Regions from separate parts of the Homo sapiens genome. Here all the other regions are linked to region 3. The links are contacts of gene promoters, found by promoter capture Hi-C in blood cells and fetal thymus (Javierre and others, 2016). All regions are on one chromosome and are shown on one strand. The core of a region is centred on a gene start or on the middle of the fragment in contact, and the rest is flanking DNA. Distances in the headings are between cores, read along the strand shown. Region 1 overlaps ETFB (electron transfer flavoprotein subunit beta). Region 2 overlaps VSIG10L (V-set and immunoglobulin domain containing 10 like). Region 3 holds the start of LENG8-AS1 (LENG8 antisense RNA 1).

Region 1 (3,653 bases), core at 997-3,496, 3.1 Mb after region 3:
TTTTCCCCTATACTTAGCAACTAGAAAGGGAGAGGAAAGTATGTTTGCTAGAGATGAAAGTTCAAGGAGCCAACCTAACTGAGTGGAGGGAGTGACTCACATTCTCCATGAAGGAGGTGGGAGCAGGGGCACCCTCTGAGAGCCCAGCTTGTCCCCAGAGGGAAGCTGGTGTGGACACTTTGTAATCCACAGTGTTGTTTACTTATTGATTGCTCTGGTGTCTGTCGCCCCTTCTGGAATTTGAGCTCCAGGTGTGGGGGAGACAGTTTGATGTGGTCACTGCTTCCTGAGACAGTGGGTTCACTACTAGAATAGTGCAGACCTCAGACTCCAAGCCCAGCGCCTGCGTCCACTTCCTGCTGTGTGACCTTGAGGAAATTGCTTCACCACTCTAAGCCTCATTTTTCTACTCTGTACAATGGGGATGATGGTACTATCTACTTTATTGAGTTGTAATGAAAATTAAATAAGCCCTTGGAACAGTGCCTGGCACACAGTGGTTTGTTTTGTTTTATTTTTTGAGACGGAGTCTATCTCTGTTGCCCAGGCTGGAGTGCAGTGGCATGATCTCAGCTCACTGGAACCTCCACTTCCCAGGTTCAAGCAACTCTGCCTCAGCCTCCTGAGTAGCTGGGATTACACGTGTGAGCCACCACGCCTGGCTAATTTTTGTATTTTTAGTAGAAACGAGGTTTTGCTATGTTAGCCAGGCTGGTCTAGACCTCCTGACCTCAGGTAATCCACCCGCCTCAGCCTCCCAACGTGCTGGGATTACAGGTGTGAGCCACTGTGACCAGCTGCAATAAGTGTTTTTATTGGGAGTAGTAGTAATGGATGTTTAGTTAGTCATTTATTCAAAACATAACAAATGCTGTGCTCAGAGTGTATTCGTGTGTGTGTGTGTGTGTGTGTGTGTGTGTGTGTGTGTGTGTATGTGTGTCCGGCTGTGTGTATGTTTCTGGGTATGTGCGTGTATCTAACATTTTAATAGGTATTTGGCAACTCAGTAACACCCTGTCCTGTTCAGGGGCACATTTTACAGGAAGCTGATGAAGCTTAACCTTCAGGGCCTCTTTCAAGACCCCAGGAGAAAGGCTGGGCCTGGTGGCTCACGCCTGTAAACACACACTTTGGGAGGCTGAGGTGGGTGGATCACGAGGTCAGGAGTTCAAGACCATCCTAGCCAACAGAGTGAAACTCTGTCTCTACTAAAAATACAAAAATTAGCTGGGCATGGCGGCGCGTGCCCGTAGTCCCAGCTACTCGGGGGGCTGAGGCAGAAGAATCGCTTGAACCAGGGAGGCGGAGGTTGCAGTGAACCGAGATCGTGCCACTGCACTCCAGCCTGGGTGACAGAGGGAGACTCCGTCTCACAAAAAAAAAAAAAAAAAAAAAAACCCAGGAGAGGCTGGGCAATTTTGTATTCATTATCTGGGATTCATTTTCTTAGAGATGACCCCACAGGATAGAAACTCCAGGCCCAGAAAACGTGTTTCCATCTCGGGGCCCAACCCCGACCAGCCACACCCTCTCGTCTGGGAGCGCCTGGTGTTTCTTCAGGTTTTCCTCTTTGGGCTCCACGCACTTGCCCCTCCTGCTCTCAGCAAGGCCACCTTGTCTGACAGGGCACACGTGGGGCTCACATGTCACCTCAGGGACGAGTTCTCTGTCTGCCCCCCGCCGAGTTAGTGATCTGTCACTGGGGTGGCTCCCTGGCCTTGGCTGTCCTGCTTGCTGAGTGCCCTAGCACGTGCCCAGGGACTCGCTTGACAGAAAAGCCTAGAGGACAGAACCACACAAGTCCTTGAGCTGTGTCAGGGGTTCAGGAAGAGCTGTCGAAAATCACTTTATAAAATCCCTCTTGGGCCGGGCGTGGTGGCTCACACCTGTAATTCCAGCATTTTGGGAGGCCGAGGTGGGCGGATCACCTGAGGTCAGGAGTTCGAGACCAGCCTGGCCAACATGACGAAACCCCATCTCTACTAAAAATAAAAAAATTAGCCAGGCGTGGGCCGGGCGCGGTGGCCCACACGTGTAATCTCAGCACTTTGGGAGGCTGAGGCGGGTGGATCACAAGGTTAGGAGATTGAGACCATCCTGGCTAACACGGTGAGACCTTGTCTCTACTAAAAATACAAAAAATTAGCCAGGCGTGGTGGCAGGCGCCTGTAGTCCCAGCTACTGGGGAGGCTGAGGCAGGAGAATCGCTTGAACCCAGAAGGTGGAGTTTGCAGTGAGCCAAGATCATACTACTGCACCCCAGCCTGGGCAACAGAACAAGACTCTGTATCAAAAAGAAAGAGAAAGAGAGAGAGAGAGAGAGAGAGAAAGAGAGAAAGAAAAGAGAAGAGAAGAAAATCCCTCTTGCCTGCAGTGGACAACAAATAGGAAGACTGGCTCTCCTAACACCGTGGGCACACGTAGCCTCTTTCAGAGTCTCACAGTTCCCAAGACAGATTTGGGGTTAGACCCGTGGTCCTGCCACTTCCATGCTCAGTGGCCCTGGCCAAGGTACTTGGCCTCTCTGTGCCTCAGTTGCCTCATCTGTAAAATGAGAGGTAATGGCAGTAACCAACCTCACAGGCTACTAGGATGGTCAAACGAGTTAATGCATATAAAACCCTTGACTCGTTGTCTGCATGGGTCAGTGCTGCTTTTAAAAAAATTTTTTTTTTCTTTTCTTTTTTTTTTTTTGAGATAGAATCTGGTCTGTCACCCAGGCTGGAGTGCATTGATGTGATCCCTGCTCACTGCAACCTCCACCTCCCGGGTTCAAGTGATTCTCCTCCCTCAGCCTCCCAACTAGCTGGAATTACAGGCATGTGCTAAAACGCTCGACTAATTTTTGTATTTTTAGTAGAGATGGGGTTTTACCATGTTGGCCAGGCTGGTCTCGAACTCCTGACCACAAGTGATCCACCCACCTCAGCCCCACAAAGTGCTGGGATTACAGGTGTGAGCCGCCACGCCCAGCTTTGAGGCTGTTTTTGATATTGGTGGATATGTCGTCTCTTTAAGAGAAAGCCAGCACTTAATGCTGAATGATTTACCTCAATTATAAAACTTTTTTTTTTTCTTTTTGAGACAAGGTCTAGCTCTGTCACCCAGGCTAGAGTGGTACAGTCACAGCTCGCTGCAGCCTCGACCCTCCTGGGTTCAAGCCGTCCTCCCACCTCAGCCTCCTCAGTAGCTGGGACTACAGGTGCACGCCACCATGACCTGCTAATTTTGTTTTTTGGTAGAGATGAAGTCTCTCTATGTTGCCCAGGCTGGTCTTGAAATCCTGGGCTCCAGTGATCCTCCTTCCTCAGTCTCCTAAGGTGCTGGGATTACAGGCATGAGCCATCATTATTTAAAAAACAAACAAGCTATCATTTTTCAGCCCTACCATTGTTTCCTGACTTATGTAATATAACTAAACTGTTTTTGAAGCTTAAAATCAACTCAAGCTTAATTGAGAAGATGAGCTAGTTTGTTTCCTCAGGTGTGTGTGCGTGCGTGTGTGTGTGTGTGTCTGGAAAGTTCTTACCCTTTCTCCTCAGGAGTCAGGAGCCTGGGAATCAGGAGCTTAGGGCTGGGAGTTCTGCCAGAGCAAGAGCAAGATGTGGCTTGAGGCCCTTCAGAAGCCTCCCTGACTCACAGCAAGAAGCTTG
Region 2 (4,069 bases), core at 41-2,540, 3.1 Mb after region 3:
AGTTACCTGGCAAGGGGGGCGGAGTCACCAGGGAAAGGGGCGAGGTCATTTAGAAAGCGGGCAGAATTGTCTTAGAAAGGGGAAGGGGTCCACAAGGAAGGGCGGAGATATCTGGGAAAAGGGGAGGCTTCTCGGAGTGCAATCCAGGAGGGGGCGAAGTAACCTGGCAGAAGTGGGTGGAGCTGGAAAGGAAGGGGCTGAGTTACGTTTGGGAAGAGAAATATCATTGTGTGAAGATGCAGTTTTCTTAAGAAAGTTGGGCAGTCAGCAGGGCTGCGGGCTACCCACTTAGCGAGGAAGTTAATGGGAAAAGGGAACGGGATCGCAGGAAAAGTGGGGAGTGTGAGCGCCTATGGGGTGGGGCTAGTGAAGAAGGGTGGAGTCACCGCGCGGGGAGGCGGGGCTGGAGAAGAAATGAGAAAGGGACTCCATCTTCATTCTCTCCCTTCTCTCCGCAGACCTGCCCCCCGGGGCCCCACAGTGCTCAGTTGAAGGGGGTCCCGGGGACCGCAGCCTCCGCTTCCGCTGCTCGTGGCCCGGCGGGGCCCCTGCTGCCTCCCTGCAGTTCCAGGGTCTCCCCGAAGGCATCCGCGCCGGGCCAGTGTCCTCTGTGCTGCTGGCGGCCGTCCCCGCCCACCCCCGGCTCAGCGGCGTCCCCATCACCTGCCTTGCTCGCCACCTGGTGGCCACGCGTACCTGCACAGTCACGCCGGGTGAGAGGGCGCGGGGCTTTTTTGCTGTTTCTCGAGGAGGAGGGAGACTTTTTCTTTGGTCCTTCGAAAATTCTGAAGGGGTATGGGGTACGTCCTTAGTCCAAGAAAGAGGCAGGACTTCACTGTCTTCAAACTAGAAAAGGGACAAAGATTTTCCTATACCTCATGGTGGCGGGGTGCAGGGATGGGGGTATTTTTCTGGACACAGGAAGAAGGCCATCACTTTCACACGTGTTCAGAGAGATAAAGCAGTGATATTTTAAAAAGTAACAAGGCCGGGCGCAATAATCGCAGCACTTTGGTAGCTGGGGGCGGGAGGATTGCTTGAGTCTAGGAGTTCAAGACCAGCCTGGGCAGTGTGGCAAGACCCAGTCTTGTAATTATTATTGCTACAAAATAATAATAATAATAAAGAAGAAAGAATAGCTGAAAATAATATGAGTTTCCCAGTACAGGGCCTGCGCCTATGGTATGTGTTCAATAAGTGTTTGATGAGGAAATCAGATAATAAATGAATGAATGAATGAATGAGCTAATGAGTGAGTAAATTGGCAGTTCTTTCTCAGGTGGCCAAAGCGTGGGGGCTTACCACCATCTGATTTAAAGTAGGGCATAGGATCTGTTCTTTGAATCCAAGGTAAGGTCTTGACTTTCTTAACTGGACTTCTCCCACCGGCAGAGGCCCCCCGAGAGGTGCTGCTGCATCCGCTGGTGGCAGAGACACGGTTGGGGGAGGCAGAGGTGGCACTGGAGGCCTCTGGTTGTCCCCCACCCTCACGGGCATCCTGGGCCCGGGAAGGGAGGCCCCTGGCTCCAGGAGGCGGGAGTCGCCTGCGGCTCAGTCAAGATGGGCGGAAACTCCACATCGGCAACTTCAGCCTGGATTGGGACCTGGGAAATTACTCCGTGCTGTGCAGTGGGGCGCTGGGTGCTGGCGGTGACCAGATCACCCTCATTGGTGAGCCACGTTATTTCAAAAAACCCTGAAGTCCACGTCCCCAGCCGCTCCAGCCCTCAGACCCAGAAGTTCAGGCCCCAGACCTCTCCTCCCTCAGACCTCGGATCCAGGCCCCCAGCCTCTCCTCCCTCAGACCCTGGAGTCCAGGCCTCAGCCCCTCCTCCCTCAGACCCAAGGGTCTAGCCCCAGCCCCTCTTCCCTCAGACCCAGGAGTCCAGGTCACCAGCCCCTTCCACCCTCAGATCCAGGAGTCCAGGCCCCCACCCCCTCCTCCCTCAGACCCAAGAGTCCAGGCCCCCAGCCCCCTCCCCCTCAGACCCAGGAGCCCAGCCCCCCAGCCCCCTTCCCTCTCCCCTCTGGCACCCAAGAATCCAGCCACCCCCACATCCCTCTAGGACCCTCCATATCCTCGTGGAGGCTTCAGAGAGCCAGAGATGCAGCCGTGCTGACTTGGGATGTGGAGCGCGGGGCCCTGATCAGCAGTTTTGAGATCCAGGCATGGCCAGATGGGCCTGCTCTGGGCAGGACTTCCACCTACAGGGACTGGGTCTCCCTGCTCATCCTGGGGCCTCAGGAGCGGTCAGCCGTGGTGCCCCTTCCACCTCGGAACCCAGGGACCTGGACCTTTCGGATCCTGCCCATCCTGGGGGGCCAGCCAGGGACTCCATCACAAAGCCGGGTCTACCGGGCCGGTGAGTTGGGGCTGTCAGAGTAGACCTTCTCTGTTGTGCCAGATCCTCCGTGTCTCCCTGTTTTAGTGTCCTGGGGCCTGCCCTAACAAAGTACCATGAACTGCATGGCTTGAGACTACAGGAATTTCTTCTCTCACAGGTCTGGAGGTCAGAAGTCTAAAATCAAGGTGTCGGCTGGGCGCGGTGGCTCACGCCTGTAATCCCAGCACTTTGGGAGGCCAAGGCGGGTGGATCACGAGGTCAGGAGATCGAGACCATCCTGGCTCACACGGTGAAACCCCGTCTCTACTAAAAATACAAAAAATTAGCCTGGCGCGGTGGCGGGCGCCTGTAGTCCCAGCTACTGGGGAGGCTGAGGCAGGAGAATGGCGCGAACCCGGGAGGCGGAGCTTGCAGTGAGCCGAGATCAGCCACTGCACTGCAGCCTGGGTGAAAGAGCCAGACTCCGTCTCAAAAAAAAAAAAAAAAAAAAAATCAAGGTGTCGACAGGGTCCTACTCCCTCTGAGACCCTGTGTAGAATCCTCCTTTGTGTCTTCCTAGCTCCTGGTGGCGGCTGTTTCATCCTTGGCGTTCCTGGACTTGCAGCTGCATCACTCCAACCTCTGCCTCCAGCTTCCCACAGGCTTCTTCCCTGTGTGTGTGTCTCTTCTTCTTCTTCTTCTCCTTCTCCTTCTTCTTTTTTGAGAAGGAGTTTTGCTCTTGTCGCCCAGGCTGGAGTGCAATGGCATGATCTCGGCTCACCGCAACTTCTACCTCCCAGATTCAAGTGATTCTCCTGCCTCAGCCTCCCGAGTAGCTAGGATTACAGTCATGCGCCACCACACCCAGCTAATTTTTGTATTAGTAGAGATGGGATTTCACCATGTTGGCCAGGCTGGTCTTGAACTCCTGACCTCAGGTGACCCACACACCTTGGCCTCCCAAAGTGCTGGGATTACAGGTGTGAGCCACCGCACCTGGCTTCTGTCCTCTTCTTTTAAGGACACCAGTTATATTGGATTAGGGTCCACCCTAATACCTCAAATTGACTTGGTTACATCTTCAAAGACCTTATTCCAAAATAAAGTCACATTCACAGGAACAGGGGTTAGGACTTCAACATATGTTTTTCTTTTGGGGTAGGCACAATTCAGTTGATAACATGCCTCCATTGGAGCATCTCAGGATTTAGTCCTCACTCCCCAAAGTGATCATGTTCATGCTCATGGCCTTCAATAACATTAATAATCAGATGACTCCCAAATGTCTTATCCTGGGCCCTGACTTCTCTCTTGAAAAGGATGCGCCCAACTTAAGATCTTCACTTTTTGGGGAGGTGGGGGGTGTGGACAGAGTGTTGCTCTGTCACCCAGGCTGGAGTGCAGTGGCATGATCTCAGCTAACTGGAACCTCCACCTCCTGGGTTCAAGTGATTCTCCTGCCTCAGCCTCCAGAGTAGCTGGGATTACAGGTGTGAGCCACCACGCCCAGCTAATTTTTTTTGAATTTTTAGCAGAGACAGGATTTTGCCATGTTGGCCAGGCTGGTCTTGAGCTCCTGACCTCAAGTGATCTGCCTGCCTCGGCCTCCCAAAGTGCTGGGATTACAGGCGTGAGTCAAGATCTTCACTTTGGATGTCCAATTAGCATCCCAAATGTCATATGCCCAAAACAGATCTTTCGATGTTTTCCCTCAAAACTGCATCCTCCAACCCTGCAGTCTTCCC
Region 3 (4,005 bases), core at 922-3,421:
TCAAGAGAAGCCGGGCAGAAAAGGGGAGGCTGACTGAAAAGCCACTGGGGTCAAGGATCTGAAGAGTTCTGGGTGTGGACTAGAAAGGCTGGAGTGAGGGGAAGCCCCTGGCCCCTTTGTAGAGCTCCAGGTGGAAAACGAAGGATTTGGAAACAGGGAAGCCAGAGCAGACTTCCCAAAGGGAAGGAGAAGGGTCTGAAACCCATGTGAGCAAAGAGAGGCTGTGATGAAAGGTCCAGAGGGTAGGGGTGCCTCCATCAAGGGGAAAAGGTCTACAAAAAATTCTAGGGGCCAGGCGCGGTGGCTCACGCCTGTAATCCCAGCACTTTGAGAGGCCAAGGCGGGCAGGTCACCTGAGGTCGGGAGTTCGAGACCAGCCTAACCAACATGGAGTAACCACGTCTCTACTAAAAATACCAAATTAGCTGGGCATGGTGGCATATGCCTGTAATCCCAGCTACTAGGGAGGCCGAGGCAGGAGAATCGCTTGAACACGGGAGGCGGAGGGCGGTAAGCTGAGACTGCGCCATTGCTCTCCAGCCTGGGCAACAAGAGCGAAACTCTGTCTCAAAAAAAAAAAAAAAAAAAAAGCTAGGGAGTACGGGTTGTGAAAGGAACCTGAACCAAGAGGATGGATGCTATAATGAGAAGAGTCTGAGGGAACCCTTAAGGCTGAGAGGGTGGAAAGGTTTCCGAGAACTCTGTGAAAAGGGAGGCCTTTCAGGGAGCATCGAGGGGGCTGGAAGAATATTGGAGAAGAGAAGAAAATTTTGAGAGGAAAAGGGGATTTTCCGGAAGTTAACCCTGGAAGCAAGTGGTCGTTGAGCGTTCCTGAGAATGCCAACGTGAACCCCAACGTGAAGAAATGGGTTCTTAGCACTGACAGACTGATTTCAAAAAGGTCTCCGAAGGGCAGTAAAGAGACCTACGTGGGAGTCCTCAGTGGGACTACCCCTGCCTGCTTCCACGGGAGGTTCCCGGAAGCAGGGGTAGGGCTGGGAGAGAAAAGGGATCACCGTGGTTGGGTGTCTGGACATAAAGCTTTGGGAATGCCAAAGAAGACCCAAAACATGTTCAACGAATTAAGAGTGGGGTACAGAGAGAATTGGAAGAAAAGTGGAGTGTCTCCGGAGCAAGGATTCAGGAGCCTAAACTCCCGAGAGGGAGTAACTGATAAGTAGGATAATTAATCCCGCAGGAGAACCGGAATTCCCACGAGTTGACGGGATAGGAACGGGAGTCTGGAGCTGGGGAAAAGCCCTAGAAACGCAAAGGCTTAACTTAAACAGGACACAGGGCGTGGGTGGAGACGAGGGATCGTGGCGGGGACACAGGAAGAGGAGCCCCAGGGCAGAAGGGAGATTAGAGGTAAGGTCAGGAGTTGGGGGCTGGACAGAGGACTCCCGGACGGGTCTCAAGAACAGAGACAGGCATCAGACGCGAGGCCTGAGGTCCCGGGAGCACCTGGCCGTCCCGCAGGCTGGGCGAAGGCAAAGGAGGACGCCGGGTGGAGGAGGCCGCTCGGATCCCCACGACTAGCCACGGAGCCACTGCCCAGGCCGCGCCTGCGCACCACGCCCCAGAAAGACGCGCAGGAGCCGCCCGTCGCCCGGGGCAACACCCGGTCAACGGCGAGTGAGGGGCGCCCCGGGGCCCCGAGAACTCCAAGGGAGAGGAACGGAAATTAGAAGACGACGGCGCACGCGCGCTAGTGCCCGAACGCGCGGCCCCAGGCCCGGTGCGCAGGCGCAGTGGCTGCCCCTGCGCCGCCACACCCTGTCGACGCTCGCGCGCGGCGTCTGCTGCTGCGACGGCCGAGAAGGCCTCGGGGCTCGCGGGGCGCAAGACCAAAAGGAGATGCTATCCCCGCCCGCCTGCTCGCCTGCCGCTCCCCTTACCAACCAGGATCCTTCGCTGCAGGGACACGCCAACAACCACCCAGGCGATCAGCAACACGGCCACGACACCGCTGTGCCACCCGGCTGGCTCTGGTCTTCTTTGGCTTCGACGTCCTGACCGCGGCGTCCTGACGTCACGCGGCGGCCTTGCACCGCCTCCCTCGGCCCTGCACAGCCAATGAACGCCACGAGCTGCGCTTGAGCCCGCCTTCCTGCCCACGCACTTACGCATGAACATTTTAAGGCAGACCGGAAGTCTGGGTGGGGACGGTGGCCCCGAGGAGACAAGCGTGGCCGCATTAGCTCTTTCTGCCTCCCACGCAGCCTTATTTTTTTTATTGTTGTTTTCTTGTTGCTGTTGTTGTTGTTCTCGGAGACGGAGTCTTGCTCTTGCTCTGTCGTCGCCCACGATAGAGTACAGTGGCGTGATCTCTGCTCACTGCAACCTCCGCCTCCTGGGTTCAAACAATTCTGCCTCAGCCTCCGGAGTAGCTGGGATTACAGGCGCGCGCCACTATGCCCGGCTAATTTTTGTGTTTTTAGTAAAGACGGGGTTTCACCATGTCGGCCAGGCTGTTCTCGAACTCCTGACCTCGTGATCCCTCCGTCTCGGCTTCCCAAAGTGCTGGGATTACGGGCGTGAGCCACCGTGCCCGGCCGCAGCCTTGTTTTGACTGAGTCAGTGGGAGCCATTACTGTTCCTAAATGTAAACTGGCGTGACAGGAGTTCCGGGATTGTCCACAGCACGGTGATGTGGAAGCCCTGGGGAGAGAATGATAAAGAAAGGGGATGAGGAACAGCTCCACCCGGAAGAGCGGGCTTCCCTAGCAAATGAATCTGGAAGGGCGCAGGGGAGGGGGCACGGCGAGTTCAGATGGACCGAGGCTGGAAGCTGACGCGGTTGGAGGGGGATGGGTGTAGCTGTTGGCAGTGGCGCTGGGGTGGAAGTGTGTGGGGTCACAGATGTGTAAGGGTGGGCGCGGAGCAGACCCCCGAAGGTCCCTGAGGTCAGGCTGAGGCATTGGACCAAATCCGTACATAGGCATTTCTCTGAACTGCGCGCCACCTTTTGAGTGCCATCTGTTTCCGTCCAGGACTCTGATACAACTATCCAGTCCGCTGCAGGGACCGGTCACTGTGTCACAGTAAGTGGTGGGATTTAAGAGGCAGTTTTCCTCCTCATGTTCTACCATTATGAACGTCTAGCTTGAAAAATACATACCATTTTCATAACTACGTATTATTTTGTTAGTGCTAGCATAGTAGATCTTTTTCCGTTATTTTACTCTGTGGGGGGGGGGGGGTTTGTTTTGTTTTTGTTTTTGTTTTCTTTTTGGTACTAAGCTTTTTGTTCTGGAATAATTTTGGATTTATTCAAAACGTTGCAAAGACCGGGCGCGCTGGCTCACGCCTGTAATCCCAACACTTTGGGAGGCCGAGATGGGTGGATCACCTGGGGTCAGGAGTTCAAGATCAGCCTGGCCAACATGGTGAAGTCCCGTCTCTACTAAAAATACAGAAATTAGCTGGGCGTGGTGGCGCGTGCACCTGTAATCCCGGCTACTCGGGAGGCTGAGGCAGGAGAATCGCTTGAACCCAGGAGGCCAAGGTTGCAGTGAGCCGAGGTTACACCATTGCACTCCAGCCTGGGCAACAAGAGTGAAATTCTTGTCTCAAAAAAAAAAAAAAGAAAAGTTGCAAAGATCATAAGCAGTCCACCATGTTTTATGCCCACTTTCTTCTGATGCTGTCATCACAAGCACCAACAAAAGTGGTTTGTTGTAGATACTGACATGATGCATTACTGTAACTAAAACCCAGACTTTACTGGGATTTCACCACCTTTTCCTCCAATGTTTTCTTTACATGCCAGGGTACAAGCCAGGACCCACGTTCCATTTAGCTTCCTTTTACCTGTTGTATTTAGGGTGGGTTTCTTGTAGATAGCATGTAGTTGGATCTTGCTTTTTTTTGCCCAAGCGAACAGTCTCTGCCTTTTAAAAGAGGTGTTTATAACTGTACTTTTATTTTTTATGTCTTATTCTTTAGCATTCTGTACACAGATACAGCGATAAAATGAAATGACTGGAACTTAAATGTGAAAAC

The links. Contacts are between HindIII fragments. The CHiCAGO score rates a contact against its expected background, and 5 or more counts as called.
Region 1: a fragment that was not itself captured here is called in contact with the fragment with the promoter of LENG8-AS1 in region 3 in 1 of 17 cell types (naive CD4 T cells); the score reaches 5.2 in naive CD4 T cells.
Region 2: a contact is called between a fragment that was not itself captured here and the fragment with the promoter of LENG8-AS1 in region 3, in 1 of 17 cell types (non-activated CD4 T cells). The highest score is 5.5, in non-activated CD4 T cells.

Annotation. Positions count from the first base shown.
Region 1 is chr19:51,359,442-51,363,094 of GRCh38, reverse strand. All of the region lies in intron 1 of ETFB (electron transfer flavoprotein subunit beta), which reads left to right. Among named protein-coding and RNA genes, the nearest start is that of ETFB, 5.1 kb to the left of the region's middle. The HindIII fragment of the contact is 2,377 bases long and covers 1,058-3,434 here.
Region 2 is chr19:51,335,532-51,339,600 of GRCh38, reverse strand. VSIG10L (V-set and immunoglobulin domain containing 10 like) reads left to right here. Exons shown (of 10, transcript NM_001163922.3): 5 at 459-713; 6 at 1,393-1,671; 7 at 2,067-2,363. Among named protein-coding and RNA genes, the nearest start is that of VSIG10L-AS1, 2.5 kb to the left of the region's middle. RefSeq lists a silencer at 348-687. The HindIII fragment of the contact is 6,332 bases long and covers 1-4,069 here.
Region 3 is chr19:54,447,204-54,451,208 of GRCh38, reverse strand. It overlaps LENG8-AS1 (LENG8 antisense RNA 1), which reads left to right and starts at 2,171. Exons shown (of 3, transcript NR_126418.1): 1 at 2,171-2,647; 2 at 2,994-3,044. It overlaps LENG8 (leukocyte receptor cluster member 8), which reads right to left and starts at 2,010. Exons shown (of 16, transcript NM_052925.4): 1 at 1,899-2,010. RefSeq lists an enhancer at 1,353-2,260. The HindIII fragment of the contact is 2,202 bases long and covers 1,044-3,245 here.